Regions from separate parts of the Homo sapiens genome. Here all the other regions are linked to region 4. The links are contacts of gene promoters, found by promoter capture Hi-C in blood cells and fetal thymus (Javierre and others, 2016). All regions are on one chromosome and are shown on one strand. Each heading gives the region's core, a stretch centred on a gene start or on the middle of the fragment in contact. The rest is flanking DNA. Distances are from core to core; before and after follow the strand shown. Region 1 overlaps GRSF1 (G-rich RNA sequence binding factor 1). Region 2 has its middle 9.3 kb from the start of UTP3. Region 3 overlaps DCK (deoxycytidine kinase). Region 4 holds the start of CENPC (centromere protein C).

Region 1 (2,744 bases), core at 101-2,600, 3.3 Mb after region 4:
ACAGTACCCAATAGGTTTTATTTTTCTTTTTGAGACAGAGTCTCTCTCTGTCACCACGGCTGGAGTACAGTGGTGTGAACTCAGCTCACTGCAACCTCCGCCTCCCAGATTCAAGCGATTCTCCTGCCTCAGCCTCCCAGGTAGCTGGGACTACGGGAGCGTGCCACCACGCCCGGCTAATTTTTTTTGTATTTTTAGGAGAGATGGGGTTTCAACATGTTAGCCAGGATGGTCTCGATCTCCTGACCTCGTGATCCGCCCGCCTCGGCCTCCCAAAGTGCTGGGATTACAGGCGTGAGCCACCGCACTTGGACCCGATAGGTATTTTTTAATCTTCTCCCCAACCCTCAAGTTGGCCCTGGTGTCTTCTTGTTCCCCTCTTTGTGTCCATGTGTTCTCATTGTTTAGCTCCCACTTGTAAGTGAAAACATACAGTATTAAGTTTAATGTTCCATGTTAGTTTGCTTAGGATAATGGTCTCCAGCACCACCCACATTGCTGCAAAGCACATAATCTCACTCTTTGTTATGGCTACGTAGTATTCCATCATACCAGCCGGGCACGGTGGCTCACGCCTGTAATCCCAGCACTGTGGGAAGCCGAGGCAGGCAGATCACAAGGTCAGGAGATTGAGATCATCCTGGCTAACACGGTGAAACCCCAGCTCTACTAAAAATACAAAAAATTAACTGGGTGTGGTGGCAGTCGCTACTAGGGAGGCTGAGGCAGGAGAATGGTGTGAACCCGGGAGGCGGAGCTTGCAGTGAGCTGAGATCATGCCACTGCACTCCAGCCTGGCGACAGAGCGAGACTCCGTCTCAAAAAAAAAAAAACCTACATAGTATGATGGATTTTTTTTTTTTTTTGAGACAGAGTCTCACTCTGTCGCCCAGGCTGGAATGCAGTGGCACCATCTCGGCTCACTGCAAGCTCCACCTCCCGGATTCACACCATTCTCCTGCCTCAGCCTCCCAAGTAGCTGGGACTACAAGCCTGGGTAATTTTTGTATTTTTAGTAGAGACGGGGTTTCACTATGTTAGCCAGGATGGTCTCGATCTCCTGAGCTTGTGATCCGCCCGCCTCGGCCTCCCAAAGTGCTGGGATTACAGGCGTGAGCCACTGCGCCTGGCCCATACTATGCAGTCTTAACGTTAAAATACTTTTGTTGCATTCAAAGTCTTTATACATATGTAAATTGAGACAGTCTCACAGTGTTGCCCAGTGTGGTATGGAACTACTGGCCTCAAGCCATCCTTCCACCTTGGCCTCCCAAACTGCTGATTACAGGCCTGAGCCACTGCCCCTGGCCCAAAGTCTTTCAATTCGTTACATACCGCAAACAGCACACATGGTATCATTTGGTATATGCAACCAACCAGAATGAGACAGTTCCCAACCATCAAAAAGGAAGGTGACAGCGTAGTCTGACATGGATTTGTAGCACTACCTTTTACTCAGACAAAATTACATACTTAAAACATACATACCTGCTTGTGAGAAACAATATAAGGAAAAAAAATAAATAAATAAAACATACATAAAATATACCTGAAAAAAAGTTAAGCACATCTTCCATAGTGCATGACCAGGGCAGTCCTTGAGCTCGAATGAGAAAGACATCATCCACTTCCTCTTCTAACTTGGACGGGGCCAATTCATACTCAGGGGGTGGTGGAAGGTCTTCCAGGTAAGTAGTTTTGGACTCCTTCCAAAGGAAATGAAGAATTGTAAAAAGAGTTGCATTTACAGGTAAAAAATGTAAAAAAATTCTTAGAAAATGTTTATTCTACAAACTAACATTCTAGATGTTATTTCAGAAGCAAAAAGTAAACTTCACCAATGTAACCCATCCTGTTTTGGCTTAAATTGTACATCCAAAAGCCATAAGCAGGTATATCCTAAAGGTTTGGCAGGACACAAATTTCATTCAGGGTTTGTTTTAAAATTCATCAACCCCAAATTATAGCTAACAATAGTGTAGTTAAGGCAACACAAGAAAGGTCCTGACAATTTGACAAATATTTGATTGCCCCTACACACAGTGTTTGCCGCCCTCATCTGAAATAGCTATCTAGAATACGATAAGCATACAAGATGAGATACTGAGTGCTATAATTAAGATACAAAATACTACAGGAATTCAAATCAGAGCACTAACAGATGAATCAGGATGTGACATGAGATGGGCCTTGAAGGAAGGATAGAATTTTTATGAGGATATAAAAGATAGGGTATTCCAGTTTGAAGGCGAGAGAAAGAAGCAGTACGACCAAATGCCCATTTGAATAACAGCAATTAATTCCAACTGTTTAAATTAGGAGCCAAAGAAGGTGACCTGGCAAAAGAGGTTGGTACCATAGAGCAGAGGGCCTTGAGTGTGGAGCTCAATGTGTGTCCTTCACTTGGTAGGCAAAGATAAGTTAATACAAGACACTGAGGACTGGGTAAATCAACAAGACAGCAGGACGCCTTGGGAATATTCCTCTGTCAGCTGGTATGCCAGACCAAGTGATTAAGGGAAAGATCTTAAAGACAACGGCAGCAGTGTGAGGCTACAGACTTGTAAAGTCTCTTTTATCGGATTAAGTAAAACTGGAATTTAGTAAGAATCCACGAAGCACTACAACCATAACCTAAGAAGACAACTCAGGCTTTAAGACTTGCACTCTACTGGGCCAGGTGCGGTGGCTCACGCCTGTAATCCCAGCACCTTGGGAGGCCGAGGTGGGCGAATCACGAGGTC
Region 2 (2,700 bases), core at 32-2,531, 3.2 Mb after region 4:
CTCTACTAAAAATACAGAAATTAGCTGGGCGTGGTGGTGCACTCCTGTAATCTCAGCTACTCAGGAGGTTGAGGCAGGAGAATCACTTGAACCCGGGAGGCAGAGGTTGCAGTGAGCCGAGATCGTGCCACTGCACTCCAGCCTGGCGACAGAGTGAGACTCCATCTGAAAAAATAAGAAAACTTAATGCTAGAAGGGCTGTACCTTTTACCCTTGTGCATTGTTTTATATGGCCTGTTTTAATACATATAATAGACAATTTTGCCATGGTGGGGTGAGGATTATTCAAATTAAGTAGATGGCAGAATTTAATTAGCACCTAAAATTTTTTCACATTTATTAAATGACCTCTTTTAGACATACTTATATTTCTATTCACACCACACTTGAACATACATAAAAAGGGAAATATAAATGTAAGCTAAATAAGTTATTCCTTAAGCTTCTTATTCAGTCCAGTTTTTTTGAATTGCTTTTATTCGGATACCTGATGGTCACAGATAGAAAAAAAGAATTTTGATGTGATCTTAAGAGGAAAGGGTCTTAAAAATAAGTGAGGCTGGGCGTAGTAGCTCACGCCTGTAAACTCAGAATTTTAGGAGGCCAAGGTGGGCAAATCACTTGAGCACATGAGTTCGAGACCAGCTTGGGCAACAGGGTGAAACTCCATCTCTACTAAAAATACAAAAATTAGCTGGGCATGGTGGTGTGCGCCTGTGGTCCCAGCTAGTGGTGAGGCTGAGGTGGGAGGATCACTTGAGCCTGGGAGGTCAAGGCTGCAGTGAGCCATGATTGTGCCACTACCTGGGTGACAGTGAGGCCATGTCTCAAAAAAATAAAAAATAAGTGAGAGGGACTGATAACTACTTAGGAATAGTACAAGGAACAAATAGTACAAAAAATAAATCTTTTATGCATTGTAAAAAGAGGAAAAAACGATGCTAAATTTGGGAAGAGGCATAAATTCATTACAATTAAAACAATTAACTGCTTAAATAGGGTACTATGAGACCTCAAAAATGGCATGTACCTTTCTACATGGGGAGAGCAGAAAAAGTATCACAGCTTTGTTTGAGTAGAGTTTGGGAGAGGAAGAACGGGTACCGCAATATGAGTAATGGCAAACATGTTAAAGCTTAGTCAAAGGCAACAAGGGGTAAGACAAGATAGGAGGATAATATTGGAAAGATAGGAAGGGGTTAGATCATGAAAGACCTTACTAGGTAGTTAATGCATTTAGATTGTATCCCACACATAAAGAAGTGAACCCAGGTTTTTAAGAAATGTTGTGGCATAATTAGGTGAACGTTCAGAAAAGTAAATTACTCATTCTAGCTGCTGTAGAGCAGGGCAACTGGAATAGATTAAAACCAGAGGCAGGGAAACCAATGAGGAGTCCTTTGCAATAATAACTGGCAAGAAAAGATGAAGCTTTAACGCAGAGGACAGGCCGGGCACAGTAACTCACGCCTGTAATCCCAGCACTTTGGGAGGCCATGGCAGGTGGATCATTTGAGGTCAGGAGTTCAAGACCAGCCTGACCCGTATGATGAAACCCCATCTCCATTAAAAATACAAAAATTAGCCGGACATGGTGGTGCACGCCTGTAATCCCAGCTACTCTGGAGGCTGAGGCAGGAGAATTGCTTTAACCCAGAAGGTGGAGGTTGCAGTGAGCCGAGATCACACTACTGCACTCCAGCCTGGGCAACAAGAGCAAAGCTCTGTCTCAAAAAAAAAAAAAGAAGGAGAAGAAGAACCAGAAAGAGAGAGCATGAGAATTACTGGATACATTCATAGAAATCTTCAGCAACATCATTATTATCATTATTATTATTTTGAGATGAAGTCTCTCTCTGTCACCCAGGCTGGAGTGCAGTGGCGCGATCTTGGCTCACTGCAACCTTCGCCTCCCGGGTTCAAGTGATTCTCCTGCCTCAGCCTCCCGAGTATCTGGAACTACAGGCACACACCACCATGCGCGGCTAATTTTTTTTTTTGTATTTTTAGTAGAGACAGGGTTTCACCATGTTGGCCAGGCTCGTCTCAAACTCCTGACCTTGTGAACTGCCCACCTCGGCCTCCCAAAGTGCTGGGATTACAGGCCTGAGTCACCGCGCCCGGCCAGCAACATTATTAAGATAAACACTAGCTGGGCCTGCTGGCTCACACCTGTAATCTCAGCTACACTGGAGGCTGAATTGTCTCTGGAGTCTCTTTAGACCTGTGAAGCAATGTATTGTCAGTGATATAGAACTAGGAGAAGTCTTCTTTCTTCAGTTCTCTGATTCATAATACTAGAAATAATTGACCTTTAAGTATGACATTATTATAAACTAAATATTTCCATTTATGTCCAAGGACATTATTTTAATTAGAAATCTGATAGTAAGGATCATCTCAACTTTTGGCAAAGGAAATTGTATGTAGTAGGAACTTGAGTAGGGTTTCCATCAATGTTTAGGTTATTTGAATATTGTTCTTGAATATTGTTTTTGAATATCTGGACTAACTCTGGAGGCTGAGGTGGGAGGATTGCTTGAAGCCAGGAGTTCAACTGCAGCCTGGGCAACATAGTGAAACCCTCCATCTCTAAAATAATAATAATAAACACTCAAAAAAGACACAAATATGATCAGCTCCTCTTGAACCCTATTTCTCCACAGTATATACAAGGAACACAACTTTGCTGTTAGGTCT
Region 3 (2,700 bases), core at 71-2,570, 3.5 Mb after region 4:
TGCTGCACCCGTCAACCCGTCATCTACATTAGGTATTTCTCCTAATGCTAACCCTTCCCTTGCCTCCTACCCCACCGACAGGCCCTGGTGTGTGATGTTCCCCTCCCTGTGCCCATGTGTTCTCATTGTTCAACTCCCACTTACAAGTTAGAACATGCGGTGTTTGGTTTCCTGTTCCTGTGTTAGCTTGCTGAGATTGATGGTTTCCAGCTTCATCCATGTCCCTGCAAAGGTTATGAACTCATTCTTTTATTATGGCTGCATAGTATTCTTTGGTGTATATGTGCCACATTTTGTTTATCCAGTCTATCATTGATGGGCATTTGGGTTGGTTCCAAGTCTTTGCTATTGTGAATAGCGCTGGAGTAAACATACATATGCATGTGTCTTTATGGTAGAATAATTTATAATCCTTTGGGTATATACCCAGTAATGGGATGGCTGGGTCAAATGGTATTTCTGGTTCTAGATCCTTGAGGAATCGCCACACTATCTTCCACAGTGGTTGAACTAATTTACACTCCCACTAACAGTGTAAAAGCATTCCTATTTCTCCACATCCTCTCCAGCATCTGTTGTTTCCTGACTTTTTAATGATCACCATTCTAACTGGTGTGAGATGGTATCTCATTGTGGGTTTGGTTTGCATTTCTCTAATGACTGGTGATGATGAGCTTTTTTTCATGTTTGTTGGCTGCATAAATGTCTTCTTTTGAAAAGTGTCTGTTCATATCATTTGCCCACTTTCTGATTGGGTTGTTTGTTTTTTTTTCTTGTAAATTTGTTTAAGTTCCTTGTAGATTTTGGATATTAGCCCTTTGTCTGATGGGTAGATTGCAAAAATTTTCTCCCATTTTGTAGGTTGCCTGTTTACTTGGATGATAGTTTCTTTTACTGTGCAGAAGCTCCTTAGTTTAATTAGATCCCATTTGTCAGTTTTGGCTTTTGTTAACACTGCTTTTGGTGTTTTAGTCATGAAGTCTTTGCTCATGCCTATGTCCTGAATGGTATTGCCTATGTTTTCTTCAGAGTTTTTATGATTTTAGGTCTTATGTTTAAATCTTTAATCCATCTTGAATTAATTTTTGTATAAGGTGTAAGGAAGGGGTCCAGTTTCCGTTTTCTGCATATGGCTAGCCAGTTTTCCCAGCACCATTTATTAAATAGGGAATCCTTTCCCCATTGCTTGTTTTTGTCAGGTTTGTCAAAGATCAGATGGTTGTAGACGTGTGGTATTATTTCTGAGGGCTCTGTTCTGTTCCATTGGTCTATAGCTCTGTTTTGGTACAATACCATGCCGTTTTGGTTACTGTAGCCTTGTAGTATAGTTTGAAGTCAGGTAGCATGAGGCCTCAAGCCTTGTTCTTTTTGCTTAGGATTGTCTTGGCTATACGGGCTCTTTTTTGGTTCCATATGAAATTTAAGGTAGTTTTTTCTAATTCTGTGAAGAAAGTCAATGGTAGCTTGATGGGAATAGCATTGAATCTGTAAATTACTTTGGGCAGTATGGCCATTTTCACAATATTGATTTTTCCTATCTATGAGCATGGAATGTTTTACCATTTGTTTGTGTCCTCTCTTCTTTCCTTGAGCAGTGGTTTGTAGTTCTCCTTGAAGAGGTCCTTCACATCCGTTGTAAGTTGTATTCCTAGGTATTTTATTCTCTTTGTAGCAATTGTGAATGGGAATTCACTCATGATTTGGTTCTCTGTCTGTTAGTGGTGTATAGGAATGCTTGTGATTTTTGCCCATTGATTTTGTATCCTGAGACTTTACTGAAGTTGCTTGTCACCATAAGGGATTATGGGCTGAGATGATGGGGTTTTCTAAATATACAGTCATCATCTGCAAACAGAGATAATTTGACTTCCCCTCTTCCTATCTGAATCCCCTTTATTTCTTTCTCTTGCCTGATTGCCCTGGCCAGACCTTCCAATACTATGTTGAATAGGAGAGGTGAGAGAGGGCATCCTTATCCTGTGCCGATTTTTGAAGGGAATGGTATCGGCTGTGGGTTTGTCATAAATAGCTCTTATTTTGAGATACATTTCATCAATACCTAGTTTATTGAGAGTTTTTAGCATGAAGGGATGTTGAATTTTATTGAAGGCCTTTTTTGCATCTATTGAGATAATCATGCGGTTTTTGTCATTGGTTCTGTTTATGTGATAGATTATGTTTTATTGATTTGAGTATGTTGAACCAGCCCTGCATCCCAGGGATGAAGCCGACTTGATCGTGGTAGATGAGCTTTTTAATGTGCTACTGGATTCGGTTTGCCAGTATTTTATTGAGGATTTTCGCATCGATGTTCATCAGGGATATTGGCCTGACATTTTCTTTTTTTTGTTGTGTCTCTGCCAGGTTTTTGTATTAGGGTGATGCTGGCCTCAAAAAATGAGTTAGGGAGGAGTCCCTCTTTTTCTATTGTTTGGAAGTTTCAGAAGGAATAGTACCAGTTCCTCTTTCTACCTGTGGTAGAATTCAGCTGTGAATCCATCTGGTCCTGGGCTTTTTTTTGGTTGGTAGGATATTATTGCCTCAATTTCAGAACTTTTTATTGGTCTGTTCATTAAACCAGAGTTCTTCCTGGTTTAATCTTGGGAGGGCGTATGTGTCCAGGAGTTTATCCATTTCTTCCAGATTTTCTAGTTTATTTGCGTGGAGGTGTTTATAGTGTTCTCTGATGGTAGTTTGTAT
Region 4 (2,700 bases), core at 65-2,564:
GATGATCCTGAAAGAAAAGTAAATCATCAATTTGGTTTCTTTAAGATAGAGTCGAGTAAAATTTATTTTCAAAGTAACTTCATCCAGTATGGGCATGCTATACACCAAACATCTCCTAAGGGCTCAAAACAATTTTGAGGTTATGTTATGACATAACATAGGTTATGACAGGCATTTAAAAACTGAACTGCAGGCATCTGGTAAGCTTTATTCCGCTTCTCTCCCCACAGTGAGAATGGCTTTATTGCTTTCTTCTGATTATATATAATGTAAACAATATATGTGCTCATAGTAAAAAGTATAGATTATATTATTCTTTCATACAACTCTTTATGTTTATATGTATAACGTCACATAATGGGAGATCATCGAAGCTGAAGATTTTCTTAGAAGGGGAGATAAATTAGAAAAGAAATGATACGGATTTTTATATAGTAACCATAACCAAAGTATGAAATATAGAATAGTGAACACCAAAGAAGTCCAGAAATATGTAAACAAAATGAGTTGTCGCCCCCATTAGTCATTCACAGCTTGTACCTTTTAACTGATAGCTGTCTTTCAGAAGAGTTTGTCAATAACATATGCTCCATAAATCAGCCTCAAGAACTGCATAAAAGGCCACCATTTTGACAGAAGAACTGAAAACGTCAAATTATTTCGAGACGTACTTGTTACATAATCTGTTTCTCCCAACTACCAAGTGTGACGCAAAGACACACTTTTAAGGCGTTTCAATACTTCTACCATGGGGAGAAAAGTTATTTGGAGGCCTAGGAACTGGAGCTAGACTAAAAAGCAGAAGCCAAGATCGCGCCACTGCACTCCAGCCTGGGGGACAGAGCAAGACCCCGTCTCAAAAACAAAAACAAAAAAAAACCCAGCAGAAATCACAAGCACCTCTCAAGAGTAAGACGTAGGCACAGACGAAATGACGACATGAAAACTTAAGAAATAATAAAAGTACAGTAAATTAACTCTGGTTATCGACACACGATCACACTTGATTTCAAAAATTCCTGCGGCTTTCCCACTGAAATCCCTCAGAGATCACAGCCTCAGCCTAGCATTTCCTTCTCCCCAGCCTCGGGCGCCCGTGCCCCAGCCAGCCGCTCAACCACTCGCCTGGAGCGGGGGGCCTGCACTTACCAGACCGGACGCAGCCATGTTCCGGCCCCGCTGAGCCAGCGCAACTGTCTGAGGTGGAAGCCCACACGGACCACAGCTCCAGGAAGCCGAGCAAGAAACGAATCGCCGGAATACCAGGCCGCGGCCAAGCAATAACCTTAAGTCTCAGGCGACTGCCGCGAGAGCTGCGATCCGGAAGGCGCGCGCTAACAACACTCCCCCGCCATTGGCTCCGCCCTCAACAAACAAGAACGCTTGGCCTGTGCCTGGGTTTGAACCCGGAGACACATGCGCAAAACGGGCCGCGCCGTCCAATAGGAAGCAAGCCGTTAGTGGGCTCGCCCCTTCATGCTCCAGGCCAACGGCCCTCCAGCCTGCAGACCCACCCGCCCGCCCTACCTCTAGCCGCTCTGCTCTTCCCACCTCCCTTCCTCAGCGCCGCGCCCGGGACAGGCGCGAGACTGGGCTTTTATTAGGAAGGCACGATCCTGGGAACCGCTCCTTGTGCCCAATGTAAAACTTCTCAACAGTTCTATTAAGGAATAATAAGTAATACTTGGAAGGATGAGAGGTAGAAATTGCAGACGACTTTTTTTTTAATAGAATCTTTTTTTGAAGAGATTTTTCTAATGCAGATTCGTCAGCCACGCCCAGCCCATCTAACCATCATCTCTGAAAATAATTGAATAATTATGTATAATAATGGTGATGATGGCTTGTATTCTTTTTCAAGTATGTGGGCGATATTTTTATGATGCATTGCCAACAAATGACCCACGTAAATATCTATCATTTAAGTATGATGCACTGAAAAGAATTCTATACAGAATCCTGAAACCTGCCAGCCATTGACTAGCTATGTTATGGAGGGCAAAATTGCGGCACCATTCTGGGTGTTTCCATAGTGATAGAATGGAAGTCTAAATTAGACGCTCTGAAGACTTCTCACCTGACCAGTGTATGATTCTATGAAGCTGTATCTTATTTTATTATTTAATTTAAAATTACAAGAAAATTCTAATCAGAAAATAGTTTACTAATTGAATAAATACATTAATCAGGAGTTGAGCTAATAGATTTTTAAAACATGTAGTGCTTTAACAAATGCTGTCAACTATGAAGGCCAATTTTTTTATTTTATTTATTTTTTTGATAGAAAAAAAGGAACTATGATCTCTGACTGAAATTAGGCCTGGATTGCACTCCATTCCATTAATTCTGCCATTATGGGCAACTAAGTTATCTGTTCCTTAATTCTCTTGTCTGCAAAATGAGAATACTATTAAAGTGGTTGAGATGTTGTAATTGAATAATTCCTGTTAAGATCTAAGCACAATGTTTGGAACATAGTAAGAATTCAATAATAAAGCTATTGGAATCATTATGGAGAGTTTTTTACTATGTTTGGCAGTTTTGCCAATCAGTCCAACTTATAATTTGGTGCTGTCACATTTGGAATAGATAATGATAAACACTAACATTTATTGACTGCATACTCTATGCCCAGTTCTGAAATGCTTTGCATGCATTGAAGAGAACAATTAATATTCCTGTTTTATAAACAAGGGCACT

Evidence for each region. The method cuts DNA at HindIII sites, captures the fragments that hold promoters and counts their contacts. A CHiCAGO score of 5 or more calls a contact.
Region 1: a fragment that was not itself captured here is called in contact with the fragment with the promoter of CENPC in region 4 in 2 of 17 cell types (non-activated CD4 T cells and naive CD8 T cells); the score reaches 9.8 in non-activated CD4 T cells.
Region 2: a fragment that was not itself captured here is called in contact with the fragment with the promoter of CENPC in region 4 in 1 of 17 cell types (non-activated CD4 T cells); the score reaches 5.1 in non-activated CD4 T cells.
Region 3: a contact is called between a fragment that was not itself captured here and the fragment with the promoter of CENPC in region 4, in 1 of 17 cell types (naive CD8 T cells). The highest score is 6.1, in naive CD8 T cells.

What each region holds. Positions count from the first base shown.
Region 1 is chr4:70,834,609-70,837,352 of GRCh38, forward strand. GRSF1 (G-rich RNA sequence binding factor 1) reads right to left here. Exons shown (of 10, transcript NM_002092.4): 2 at 1,550-1,706. Among named protein-coding and RNA genes, the nearest start is that of GRSF1, 3.9 kb to the right of the region's middle. The HindIII fragment of the contact is 4,947 bases long and covers 1-2,744 here.
Region 2 is chr4:70,696,506-70,699,205 of GRCh38, forward strand. No RefSeq gene overlaps it. Among named protein-coding and RNA genes, the nearest start is that of UTP3, 9.3 kb to the left of the region's middle. The HindIII fragment of the contact is 296 bases long and covers 1,134-1,429 here.
Region 3 is chr4:70,999,109-71,001,808 of GRCh38, forward strand. All of the region lies in intron 2 of DCK (deoxycytidine kinase), which reads left to right. Among named protein-coding and RNA genes, the nearest start is that of DCK, 6.8 kb to the left of the region's middle. The HindIII fragment of the contact is 5,573 bases long and covers 1-2,700 here.
Region 4 is chr4:67,544,189-67,546,888 of GRCh38, forward strand. It overlaps CENPC (centromere protein C), which reads right to left and starts at 1,315. Exons shown (of 19, transcript NM_001812.4): 1 at 1,150-1,315; 2 at 1-7. The coding sequence starts at 1,167. RefSeq lists enhancers at 1,070-1,309, 1,087-1,637 and a silencer at 1,460-1,599. The HindIII fragment of the contact is 5,245 bases long and covers 204-2,700 here.